2 separate regions of the Homo sapiens genome follow, and region 2 is linked to region 1. Evidence: promoter capture Hi-C in 16 types of primary human blood cells and fetal thymus (Javierre and others, 2016). All regions are on one chromosome and are shown on one strand. The core of a region is centred on a gene start or on the middle of the fragment in contact, and the rest is flanking DNA. Distances in the headings are between cores, read along the strand shown. Region 1 holds the start of CEP290 (centrosomal protein 290). Region 2 holds the start of EEA1 (early endosome antigen 1).

What was found. Contacts are between HindIII fragments. The CHiCAGO score rates a contact against its expected background, and 5 or more counts as called.
Region 2: a contact is called between a fragment that was not itself captured here and the fragment with the promoter of CEP290 in region 1, in 1 of 17 cell types (total CD4 T cells). The highest score is 6.2, in total CD4 T cells.

The regions. Positions count from the first base shown.
Region 1 is chr12:88,140,838-88,146,530 of GRCh38, reverse strand. It overlaps CEP290 (centrosomal protein 290), which reads left to right and starts at 4,443. Exons shown (of 54, transcript NM_025114.4): 1 at 4,443-4,631; 2 at 5,197-5,325; 3 at 5,498-5,575. The coding sequence starts at 5,224. TMTC3 (transmembrane O-mannosyltransferase targeting cadherins 3) reads right to left here and starts at 4,224. Exons shown (of 14, transcript NM_181783.4): 1 at 4,044-4,224. RefSeq lists enhancers at 3,854-4,357, 4,164-4,603. The HindIII fragment of the contact is 8,380 bases long and covers 3,981-5,693 here.
Region 2 is chr12:92,924,465-92,930,157 of GRCh38, reverse strand. EEA1 (early endosome antigen 1) reads left to right here and starts at 863. Exons shown (of 29, transcript NM_003566.4): 1 at 863-1,115. The coding sequence starts at 1,092. RefSeq lists a silencer at 394-1,473 and an enhancer at 2,574-2,703. The HindIII fragment of the contact is 933 bases long and covers 1,801-2,733 here.

The DNA.
Region 1 (5,693 bases), core at 3,194-5,693:
AGTTATCCAGTGGCTTGATTAGGGCTGGATGGCTTTTAAAGGGTAGATTTCTCAGCTTTGAAAACTAGTCTCTGCTACTTATTAACACATCCTCTAATAGGTTATCTTAGGCTTCTTAAATGATGATCTCAGGACAACAGGAGGGCAAGGTTCAATGCACAAGCTCTTTATAAGGCTCTATTTAGTGCGTATTTTAAAAATTATTATTCAAGCAAGGTACATCCTGAATCAATGGGGAAGAAGTTATAAAAGGGCCAAGATAACAGAATTTTTAAGATTCCCCAAGGGAGCATAGTATGAGAGAAAGGGAGAGAGAGCATGTTACGAGCTCAGTTGTGGAGTCATCTTAGGTTACTTCCAAGAGCCACCTGCAAAGTAGAGGTTGCAGGGAAGGGACAGATTTACACAAAGGCATAGGCAGACGGGGACCTGACTCACTGGGGGCCATTATTGCAAACATGTAACACACTATTCTTGTTAGTTGTGAGAACTTCTAATTTTTCCTAGGCACAGAAGCAGACTTACAGATGCAGTTTAAGTGGATGGGATGACTGATTTCTGTTTGCTTACAAAAATGGGGTGTTACTATATATGTGCACAAAATCCAAGTGCAATTGGAAATGTGAAAGGAAAATAAAACTTGGGATCTCAATTCATTATGTCTATAAGAAAAAATTAGGGTGAAAGCTGAGTCATGCAAGAAACTGCTCTCCTTTTGTTCTTAGCAGACAGCTACACATCAAATGTTAAATATCTCCACAGGTAGCTACTTTAGGACATTCATCTTATCTCACGTAAAGTGCTGATTTACCACCCCACGTGAATACATAATATCTATTTCCCTCTCTGCTCTTTTTCTCTTGCAACACATAGATTACCATATCTACCCTTTTTCTCTTCCAATGGATTTTTCCCCTTTAAATACTGAAGCCCTCAAAATCATCTTAGAGAAAGGAAGAGACTACAGACTGTTTCTGTGATTCAGTGTTTATTTCTTTTCGGCATGTCCCTAACCTTGGCAAAATAAACTTCTAAATTGATTGAGACCCGTCTTAGACACTTTTTGGTTCACAAAGACTTCTCATGAGCTACATTATAGATATACAAAACTAAATACAATCCCTTCAATAAAACTGTAAATTGTATTAAGGCAAATTGTTTTGCCTTAATTTCATGGACAAGAATGAGTGTGCAGCAAGCAGATACTTGTCTTCCTTCAACATGAGGAAACTGGAAAGATCAGTAGGGAGTCAGTGTGAATTAAGCCATTAACCATGGCTTAATTTGCCATGAAGATAAGGCAAAACAAAATGTTTAGGACACACAATGGATACAAAATGGCCATGCTTTGTTTTAGAGATCGGAGAAGTAAGCTACTATGACTTTTCTTGGTAAGTCAGCAAAAAGGAACTAGAAGTAACATCCAAGGAATATAAATTCATTGCTACAGAGAACAAAGGTAAGCAATAATAAAAGGTGAGGCCTTCTTGTGAAGTGATTTTGGTCAGATAAAACTGTTCACAAAAGCCTAGGGCAGAAAGAAGGCAGGTCCAGACAAGTGTTCTTATAACAAGGCCACTTACAACATTGTCACATAAGTCCCATTTCTTGATGAAAACTGACAGGTGCAGAAAATCTGACGAAAAATAATAGTTTTGCCAATTTTCCTCAAAAATATACAGTGAGTTATTGAACTAGAACCTGAGTTAAATTTCCTGACTCACACTTAGGTACAGACGACAATGCATAAAAACTTAGTTGACTTGTTCAAGCCAGAGCTGACTTGTTCACTGCTGTATCCCCAGTGCCTAGCACAGGAAACAGGATAAAAAATACTGTTAGAATGAGTTAAAGAATAAAATTTAGGTAAGATTTTGCTTTTAGTTACAATTGTCACTGAGATCTAGGTTACAATCTTAGCTTCATCAATTATTACTTAACTTCTATGAACTTGTTCTCACTTCTGAAAAATTAGAATAAAATTTACCATTAGAGACCAGGCACCTTGAGTTTATGAATGTGAGCAAGAGGGTGGTGGCAGAAGGGTAGAAAAGAGTAATACAGACAAACGAAACTTGTAAGTGAATACATAAAAATAAGTTATAACGAATGAAAAAAAAAACAGAAGAAAAGGTGTTAGAGAAAACAGACTTCTATTATGAAAACAAACACGCAGTAGTCAGCATAGTGTATGACATAACATGTGCTCAGTAACTATTAAATTTCATTCCTACCATTGTCAGAGGTATTTGAATCACAACAACTCCATCTTGAATAGGGGCTGGGTAAAATAAGGGTGAGACCTACTGGGCTGCATTCTCAGGATGTCTGTCAGTCATTCTAAGTCACAGGATGAGATAGGAGGTGGGCACAAGATACTGATCATAAAGACTTTGCTGATAAAACAGCATGCAGTAAAGAAGCCAGCCAAATCCCACCAAATCCAAGATGGCGAGAAAGGTGGGACGTCTGCTCGTTCTCACTGCTCATTATACACTAATTATAATGCATTAGCATCCTAAAAGACACTCCCACCAGTGCTATGACAGTTTACAGATGCCATGGCAATGTGAAGAAGTTACTCTATATAGTCTAAAAAGGGGAGGAACACTCAGATCTAGGAATGGCCTACCCTCTTCCCAGAAAACTCATGAATAACCCACCCCTTGTTTAGCATATAATCAAGAAATAACTATAACAATCCTTAGTCTACCACCTCCAATGGGGGTGTATGCACCTCCAATTCTTTCTTGGCGAGATCCAGGAGCCCTCTCCTGGGGTCCAGATCAGAACACCTTTCCAGAAACACCATCCCATGTTAAATTATGAATTAAGAACACTGAACATGAAGAATGTTTAATTCAAATTATTGAGTAAACACTTACAAAATTAAAATATAACATTTAATAAAAATAGCAAGATTGAGGAACAAGCACTTCACAAATATTGGTTTCCCAGAATGTCTGAGGAGGTGTATAGAAGTTAAGAATATGTCCTCCAGCCAGAGAGATCTGTGTTCAATCACACTATTTAAGTTACTTAGCTTCTCCAAGCCTCAGTTTCTTAACTCAGATGGAAAATGAGGACAATGTAAGCACCTATTTCACTGGATTGTAAGGAAGAATAAACAAGATAATGAATAGTATTTGGCATATAATCTTTCAGAAAAGTAGTAAAATTGTCATTCCTATAAATCTAACTAATGTCTTTAAAATTCATCTCACAAAATCAGTATCTTTTTATTTTGTACTGAGCTACTTATTTTACCCAAATTGGGGGTTTAAAAAGAAACTCATTACTTATTTTCGAAAGGAAAATTTACTGTCAAGTACAGTAATTTTTTTTTTAAAGCAGCGTTTAAAAAAAAAAAAAGACAAAGCACTGGTCCAGATAGTTGGAAATGTCATTTAGATTTAAGTCTACAGCTTCTTAGGAAAGTTAGGTAGAGATGTATCATACTCCAGCATGATTGTGAGCAGACGAGCAGGATGAGCAAAACTTGCACGAGTAAGAGTGGTAAACACCAGAGAAGGCGCTTTCATGGAAGGGCACCCTAGGTAACCAAGCAAGTGGCAACAATAGTACAGGTGAGTCCTTGGATCCCTTCTCTCTCCACCCCCGGCAGTGGTCCGGACAAGTACTAACCTCTCCTCTCTAGAGCCTTGACTTTATACTAGCTCCACAACCATCAAGCCCCACGATCCGCGAAAGGAATGGTGCTACAGGTAAGGCGGGCGGGGTCGGGATGCCGAGACCTCTTGTCAATTCTTCGCTCGCCCCCAAACGAGGATCACGGCTGCGCGGCTCTCACTCTAACTATCAAGACAGATTCTGATACTAAACAAGGCTAAAACTTTTTGTTTTTTCCTTCTTACAGAAGGCACTACCCTGGACGCCGCTTGCAAACGCCTGAAGAGAAGGCAGGGTGTTCCCACTTTTTCAGAATGGGACCAGGCCCTACGGCCCCAATAGCAGAAGCTTCTCTAACCCAGGACTGCTCCCCTCAATTCCTCCCAATATGCTGACCGACAGCTCGACCTCACCTGGGGGCGGTTCCGCCAGGGGATGGCTTAGGAAAACCTCAGGAAGAGCAGCCCAGCGAGTGACGCCACTGAAACCACAGTCATGGTCTACCTCGTTCAGGCCACCAGTTTGCAGGCGCCTGAGCCGCTGCTCCTCCCGCCTCTCGGTCCTTCCCCGCCGCCCCGGTACCGTCGCAGTCTTACGCGTTGCATGCCGGGAGCGCCTTACCTCCTCTTCTCAGGGACTTCAGTTCCCAGCATGCAGAAGCCTCAGGCAGAACTGCACTCTGGGATTTGAAGTCCTCGTTCCACGCCTTCTCATCATCCTGAACACCGAGCTCTGGGACTCCGGCGGAGAATCTAAACGTAAAGCATCACCCACGGTCGTGAACTGTAGGCTCTCCTGGCATCCGGGATCTTATTCTGGCCTTGGCGGAGTTGGGGATGGTGTCGCCTAGCAGCCGCTGCCGCTTTGGCTTGCTCGGGACCATTTGGCTGGACCCAGAGTCCGCGTGGAACCGCGATAGGGATCTGTCAGGGCCCGCGGCCGGGTCCAGCTTGGTGGTTGCGGTAGTGAGAGGCCTCCGCTGGTTGCCAGGCTTGGTCTAGGTGGGTGGATCCTTGTAAGCAGGATTAGCGAGTCACTCCACGCTCAGGTTCTTTAGCCTGAGGGCCCGTGTGCCACAGCATAGCTACCCCGCCCTTCCAGCCTCGGGTCCCTAATACTGCCTTGCTTCGGTTCCAGTTTCCGCCGCACAACTTCACTCATTCCAAATGTTAATTTCTGCGTTTTTTTTCAGCCCCAATTCTGTTTCTCCAAATCAGGGATGATTGTCGGCCTTCCACAGACCCTCGCGCTTGCCAGGATTAGGGTGTTCGCGCGCATTGTGGGTAGGGGTGTGGAGGAAGGGATCCAGAAATCTTAAGTATTAACTTAGATTAGTGTTAGCAAGGAAGCCGTCACATTTTATTTAGCCGGGACACTCTGACAGTTTGTGCCGACTGCTATTTTTGATCAAGGCTATTTTGCCCACTTGTCTATTTTGTGGCCCAATTGTCTGTTTTGCTAACATCAGAAAGTTATAATGAAATAATCTGCAAAAAATGTAAGGTGCTAGAAAACCAATAATACTGTGTACCTTGAAAATGCTAATATACACCTGTTTTGTTACAGAGGTGGAGCACAGTGAAAGAATTCAAGATGCCACCTAATATAAACTGGAAAGAAATAATGAAAGTTGACCCAGATGACCTGCCCCGTCAAGAAGAACTGGCAGATAATTTATTGATTTCCTTATCCAAGGTGCTTAATTGGTCAATAATAATAGATATATACATTAACTTATGATTAATTTATTAATAAAATATGAATTTATTTTTTTCAGGGACAACTATAATTGTCACAATCTGGAAGTGTTCTTATATTTTGCTTGAAGGTTATAAAATATAAAACAGTTGCTTTTCTGTTTACTTAGGTGGAAGTAAATGAGCTAAAAAGTGAAAAGCAAGAAAATGTGATACACCTTTTCAGAATTACTCAGTCACTAATGAAGGTTTGTATGTAGTAGGTTTTAACTATAGGTTTGGCTATTAGTGGAACTATAAAAATCTGTTCTTATATAAGGTAATCTTTGTGAAAATACCTGGTAATATCTACATCACCACTAAAAA
Region 2 (5,693 bases), core at 1,018-3,517, 4.8 Mb before region 1:
GATATTTATCTGTGACCTCATTTTCTTCTTAATCTATAAAACAGAGGCGTTAATGACAATTTACTTCATAAATCGATTATCAGAATAGGACTTAAAATTCCTTAGGAGGTCAAGCACGGGCTTTAGAAAGTGCAACATGTGAACATCAGCCTATTAAAAATTGTTTTGATCTAGAAAAGACAACCTCAAACTTCTCTTGCCAATTCAAATTCCAGCTTCTTCCTACCCTTCTTTTCTAAATCTTTGCTTTCTCTTTGGCTGAAATTAGAAGCAGGAAGGGAGCAGGGAAAGGAAACCTGGGACTGGAAAAGGGCAGGGAAGCCCAACAGACCGGTTAAGCACGTCTGAGATTCTCTAGTCGGCTTCAACCCAGGGGCTAAGAGGCAGAGTCAGCGTTTCCAGCAGAAACTAGCATATAGCTCAGGCTCAATACCACGTCGAGTCAGGAGCCATCGCCGGAAGGGTCACACCGACACATTTTACAAAACAGCCTAAGGCGTCCCCTCCTCCCGCCTGGGTCAGGGAGGGACACCCCCAGGGGTCCTCGCCCGCCTCCCACTAGCGGGCACGCGGTCGTCGCGCGGGCGCGGCCCTCTGACGGAGCCCAGGCGTGCACTCCGCAGCCTCGGCGTCCCCCAGCTAGCCGGAAGAAGCTGCGGCGACAGCGTCCTGCCGCCTGTCTGTCACGCAGCCGCCCACGTTGCCACCGCTTCCGATTGGTCGCTGGCCTGGACCGGCCCCCTTCAGCCCCGCCTCCCGCGAATGGACAGGCGAGGGGCGGGCCCGCCACCGCCCCGCCCCCCGGCGGCCGCGGGCGGGCCCGCCCATCTGTCAGTTACGGGGGCTGCCCGGCGGGCGGGCTGGAGGCGCTCGCAGGCTGCCTAGTCGTTCGCTCGCTCTCTCTCGCGTGCTCCCTCTCGCCGCCTGTGGGGAAGTCGGGGCCGCCCGAGCGGCCGTCGCCACCGCCTCGCCCCGACCTCCTTCCCGGTCCCCTCCCGGCCCAGTCCCTCCCGCCCGCGCACCCCGAGTAGTGAGTGGCCCCGCGCAGGGTCTGGAGAGTCACCGCGGCGGCGCCGGGTGGTGGTTAAACCATGTTAAGGAGGATTTTACAGAGGGTAAGAGAGTGAAACCGTCTTTCTGGCAGCACGTGAGCGGGACAGCCGGAGCTCGGGGCCGCGGCGCGGGCGCCCCTCCTCAGCGCGGGCTCCTTCCTTCCCTAGGCCCCACAGCCCGGCAGGCGCTTAGGCCTCGGTCGCCCGGCCCGGGGGCGGGGAGGGCGGGTGGGGCCGGCGCGGCGGGGCGGCAGGCAGAGCCCTGGTGGCCCCGCGCGTCCAGGCCTGGCGCCCGCTCCGGCGCGGGGCTCCGTGTGTGCGAGCGGGCTGCGAGCTGGAGGGTGTGGTGCCGGCGCGTTCCTCCCGGGAACCCTGAGTGGGAGTGAAAATGGAGAGTTGGTGCCCGTGGGACGGGCCAGCCGCCGCCTGCCGGGCTGGAGAACGCCCCATGGGAGATTCGGGCGGCTTGCTTCGCCTTTCCCCACCCGCCGCACTCCCCGTGCCCCCCAATTTGACACGATGCGCACCTGCCACACACGGCCCTGCTTTCTCCTTTGGACCACAGTGGAGGGTGGTGTGGTGAGCCCCGGCCTAGCCTGGGCCCAGGCGTGGGACTGACACTGGCACAGTCAGCCGAGAAGGAAGATGTTACTCACTGTTGGAAACTTTTTTTTTAATTAAAAATATGTTTTCTGTGCAAGCCCCACTACCTTATTTTAGCTATCCAAGAATAAATCCGCAGTAAGCTTGATCAAGTGGTATATACACTTAGTTTCTGCCTGTGCTGTCTCTGAAATCTGGAAAACCTTGAGGATAGAAAGATTAGAGCATTAGAAAACTGTAGGTGTATCATTTAAGAATCAGTTACTAGAATAACATAATTCACATCTCTTTTCCTGTAAGAGTTATTGTACCTGTCAACTTAAATTTGTTTTTTTTTTTTGGTATAGCTTTTTTCTTTTCTTTTTGAGGCTGATAGGGTGTAACAAAATGTAAATGATTGAAAAGTAGGTGCCGAGCCTATTAGTTCTTTACCGAGGGAGTAGGATAACTAGTTCAAAGGACAAAAGAAATTAGTGAATTTGTAGGATTCAGCCGAGGAATGTGCGGAAGAGAGTTGAGTCATCCAGTAGATAGGAAGGGAGTGCTCTTGCTTCTGCCTAGCTTTCTCCTGAAAGAATGAAGTCATGTGAAACTTGGTCAGTTATTAGAGGGAGAAATAGTTAACTTCTTTATCTGACAACCTGTGTTGACATTTAATTGTATTTTGCAGTGTTTTGTGAATTTTGAAATCCCGGTAAGCGATGATTTTGGCAGTAACAAGGGCATGTCCTTTACTTTCCCCATCACTTCCTTAGTTCAGCAGTAAAGACATCTGTGCATGATTTACTTTCAGGCTTTAGGAGATTTTTCTTTTATCAGACCTGGAGGAACTGATTACCTCATGTTTCAGATTGTGTTTCTGTCATAGTTCTGCAAGTGAAAATTAGTTTGCCTGTGGTTTGCTTTGAAGTTTACAAATAAAAGTGTTTACTGGTTTAAGGGTAGCTCAGCTGTAGTTATAGATTGGTTTTCAGAAATATGGGATGCTTTCTAGTAATCTTGGTTTAAAGTTAAACATCGAGATTATATGAAGATCATTTTTAATGTTGGTGCATACCTATCAACTGTTAAAGAAGCTTCTGTTGAAACTACAAAAGTGAAATTGATTGTGGTTATTGCAGAGATGTGATATTGAATCATCACTTCTGAATAAGTCAGTTGACAACTGAGTTTCTTAACGTCGGCGCTATTGGCATTTGTGACTGGATAATTCTGCGTTGTGGGAGGCTGCCCTGTGCCTTGTAAGATGTTAGCAGCATCCCTGGCATCTACCCCCACTAGATGCCAGTAGCATTCCCCTATATCCCTTCCCCCTTGTGACAACCAAAAATAGCTCCAGATTTTACCAAATGTCCCCTAGGGGCAAAATTGCCTCTGGTTGAGAATCACTGTGTTAAATGCATTAACTCTTTAGTAGGAAAGTTTGAAGTGTTTCTCACAGTTAAGTACTTAATTTTCTTTTATTCAGTGTATTTATATTGAGTTTCAGTAAATGCCAGGCTTCATGCTAAGGGGTAGGAAACAGTTGATTAAGCTGTGGGTCCTCCCTTTAGAACTCACAGGCTGTTTGGGAGGTGAACATTTAAAAGTAATGACAGTGCTATGTAATAGAATAATGAAGAGGACAGAGGACCCAGGAGGCACTCTGTGGGAGGTGAGGGCAATTAGGAAAAGCTTCAGGGACGGGGGCATATTCACAGCTCAGAAGAGGGAAGGGCATGTCAGGCAGAGGGAACAGCAAATGCAAAGAGATGGAGTCATAAAAGGCGCAGGTAGTACTGTGAGGAGTGTGAACAATGAAGCTTAGGAAGTGAGATGGTCTGTAGCAATTAGTAAGAGATGAAGCTACCGTGGTGGCTAGAGACCAAATTGTGAGAGGACGTAAGAGTCCCTTTGAAGGAGTTCAGCTTTTATCTTGTAGTTGGGTCAGTGTTAATGCTGAGTATTTAATAGGGACATTTTGATAAATGTCTTAAATCTGGTGATTTACTAGTTTAGAAGGTAGAATATATATTTTATTAACTCTACAAGTGGTATTTACCAACAAGTATAACTTGAATCTTTAAATTGTGTAACATGGCAACCTATTTTACCCCTCCCTGCTAATCTTATTTCTCAGCACAGATATTAAGCTATAAGATTAAAGCTATTGTTAATTTAGAGATTTATTTGAAATGGACTCTGTGCTTTGAAATTATGTGGCATTCCTTGGCTGGGTGCAGTGGCTCATTCCTGTAATCCCAGCACTTTGGGAGGCCGAGACGGGCGGATCACCTGAGGTCGGGAGTTCGAGACCAGCCTGACCAACATGGAGAAACCCTGACTCTACTAAAAATACAAAATTAGCCGGGAGTGGTGGTGCATGCCTATAATCCCAGCGACTCAGGAGGCTGAGGTAGGAGAATCACTTGAACCCGGGAGGTGGAGATTGCAGTGAGCTGAGATTGCTCCATTGCACTCCAGCCTGAGCAACAAGACCGGAACTCCGTCTAAAAAAAAAAAAAAAATTATGTGGCATTCCTTTAGCATTTTGTTTTTAGATGAACTTTTCATTTTAACTATTCTTATTTTCTTCTGAATAGTTTCCTTTAAATAGCATTTTTTAAAAGAAGAAACAGACAAACTGCTTACCATCAATTAGAACTCAAAGTGTTTGAACATCATCAATAAGTCTCAGGATACTTTACGGAAATTTGGTTTCTGGTTCTCCTGCTTTTGTCCCTCCTCCTGCTCCTCCTTTTTCATTAGCTTACTAAGGTGTTTCTCTGAGGCTTGAAAGAAGCTGGAAAACAAAAACAAAAAAACCTCAAAACAAAACCAAAGTGAAGTAGCTCCAATATGTATGTATTGAATATTTTACTTAATAGTCCTTCAAAGAAAAACATGAATTTAAAGTACTTGATGGTTAGAAATTTAATCAACGTTTAGTACCTTAGGCAGCTTGTAAACCTTGTTGCCATTTCTTTCTTAAGTATTATAACTTACTGTGGGCTGGCTTAGTGGCTCATGCCTGTAATTCCATCACTTTGGGAAGCCGAGGCGTGCAGATCACTGAGATCAGGAGTTCGAGACCAGCTTGGTCAATGTGGTGAAACCCCGTCACTACCAAAAAATACAAAAATTAGCCGGGCATCGTGGTGCACGCCTGTAGTCCCAACTACTTGGGAGACTGAGGTGGGAGAATTGCTTGAACCTGGGAGGCAGAGGTTGCAGTGAGCCAAGATCGTGCCACTGCACTCCAGCAACAGAGTGAGACCCTGTGTTAAAAACAAAACAAAACAAAACAAAAAAACTGTGATTAGTGTTTTTTTTTTTTTTTTTGAGACATCTTTTGTGGGCCAACTGTGTGCTGTGCAGACAATGATGGGTAAAGTAGTCATGAATTTTTTGTGGAGTTTAGCGTCCAGTGGAAGAGAGAGGAATTGTTCAGAGATTCATACAACTATACTCTTGAATGAGTTCTAGGAAGGACAAACTCAGGATGCCCCAAGAACACCCAGCAAGAGGGCCCTGGTTTTAGATGTTGGGAAGGCTTCCCAGATTAGTTGCCCATCTAAGTTTGATGAAAGTATTGCTAATTTATTGAAGTGAATTTTAAAAAGTGACAGCTAATGGAATGATTTTCTTTTTGAGTAGTTTTTTTTTTTTTTTTTTTTTTTTTTAGCATGTTAGGAATAAAGAAGAGATTAAGATATTAAAGAACCAGGACTAGAACTAAGAATAAAGAAGACGTTAAGAAATGAAAAGAACCAGGGCTAGTACTCAATTTTCTTCTCTAATTCCAGTGGCCTTTTGCTTGAGCTAAAGAAATAATGTAATTTAGTAGTTAAGAACATGAACTCTGATGCCAGACTACCTGGGTTTGTATCCTGTTTCATTTACTATCTGTGTAGTTTTGGAGAAGTTACTTCTCTGTGTCTCAGTAAAATAGTTGTAATAATACTAGCCTCCTTATAAAGTTGAGAACTAGATAACTAATATGTATAAAAGTCTCAGCCAGGCGCGGTGGCTCATGCCTGTAATCCCAGCACTTTGGGA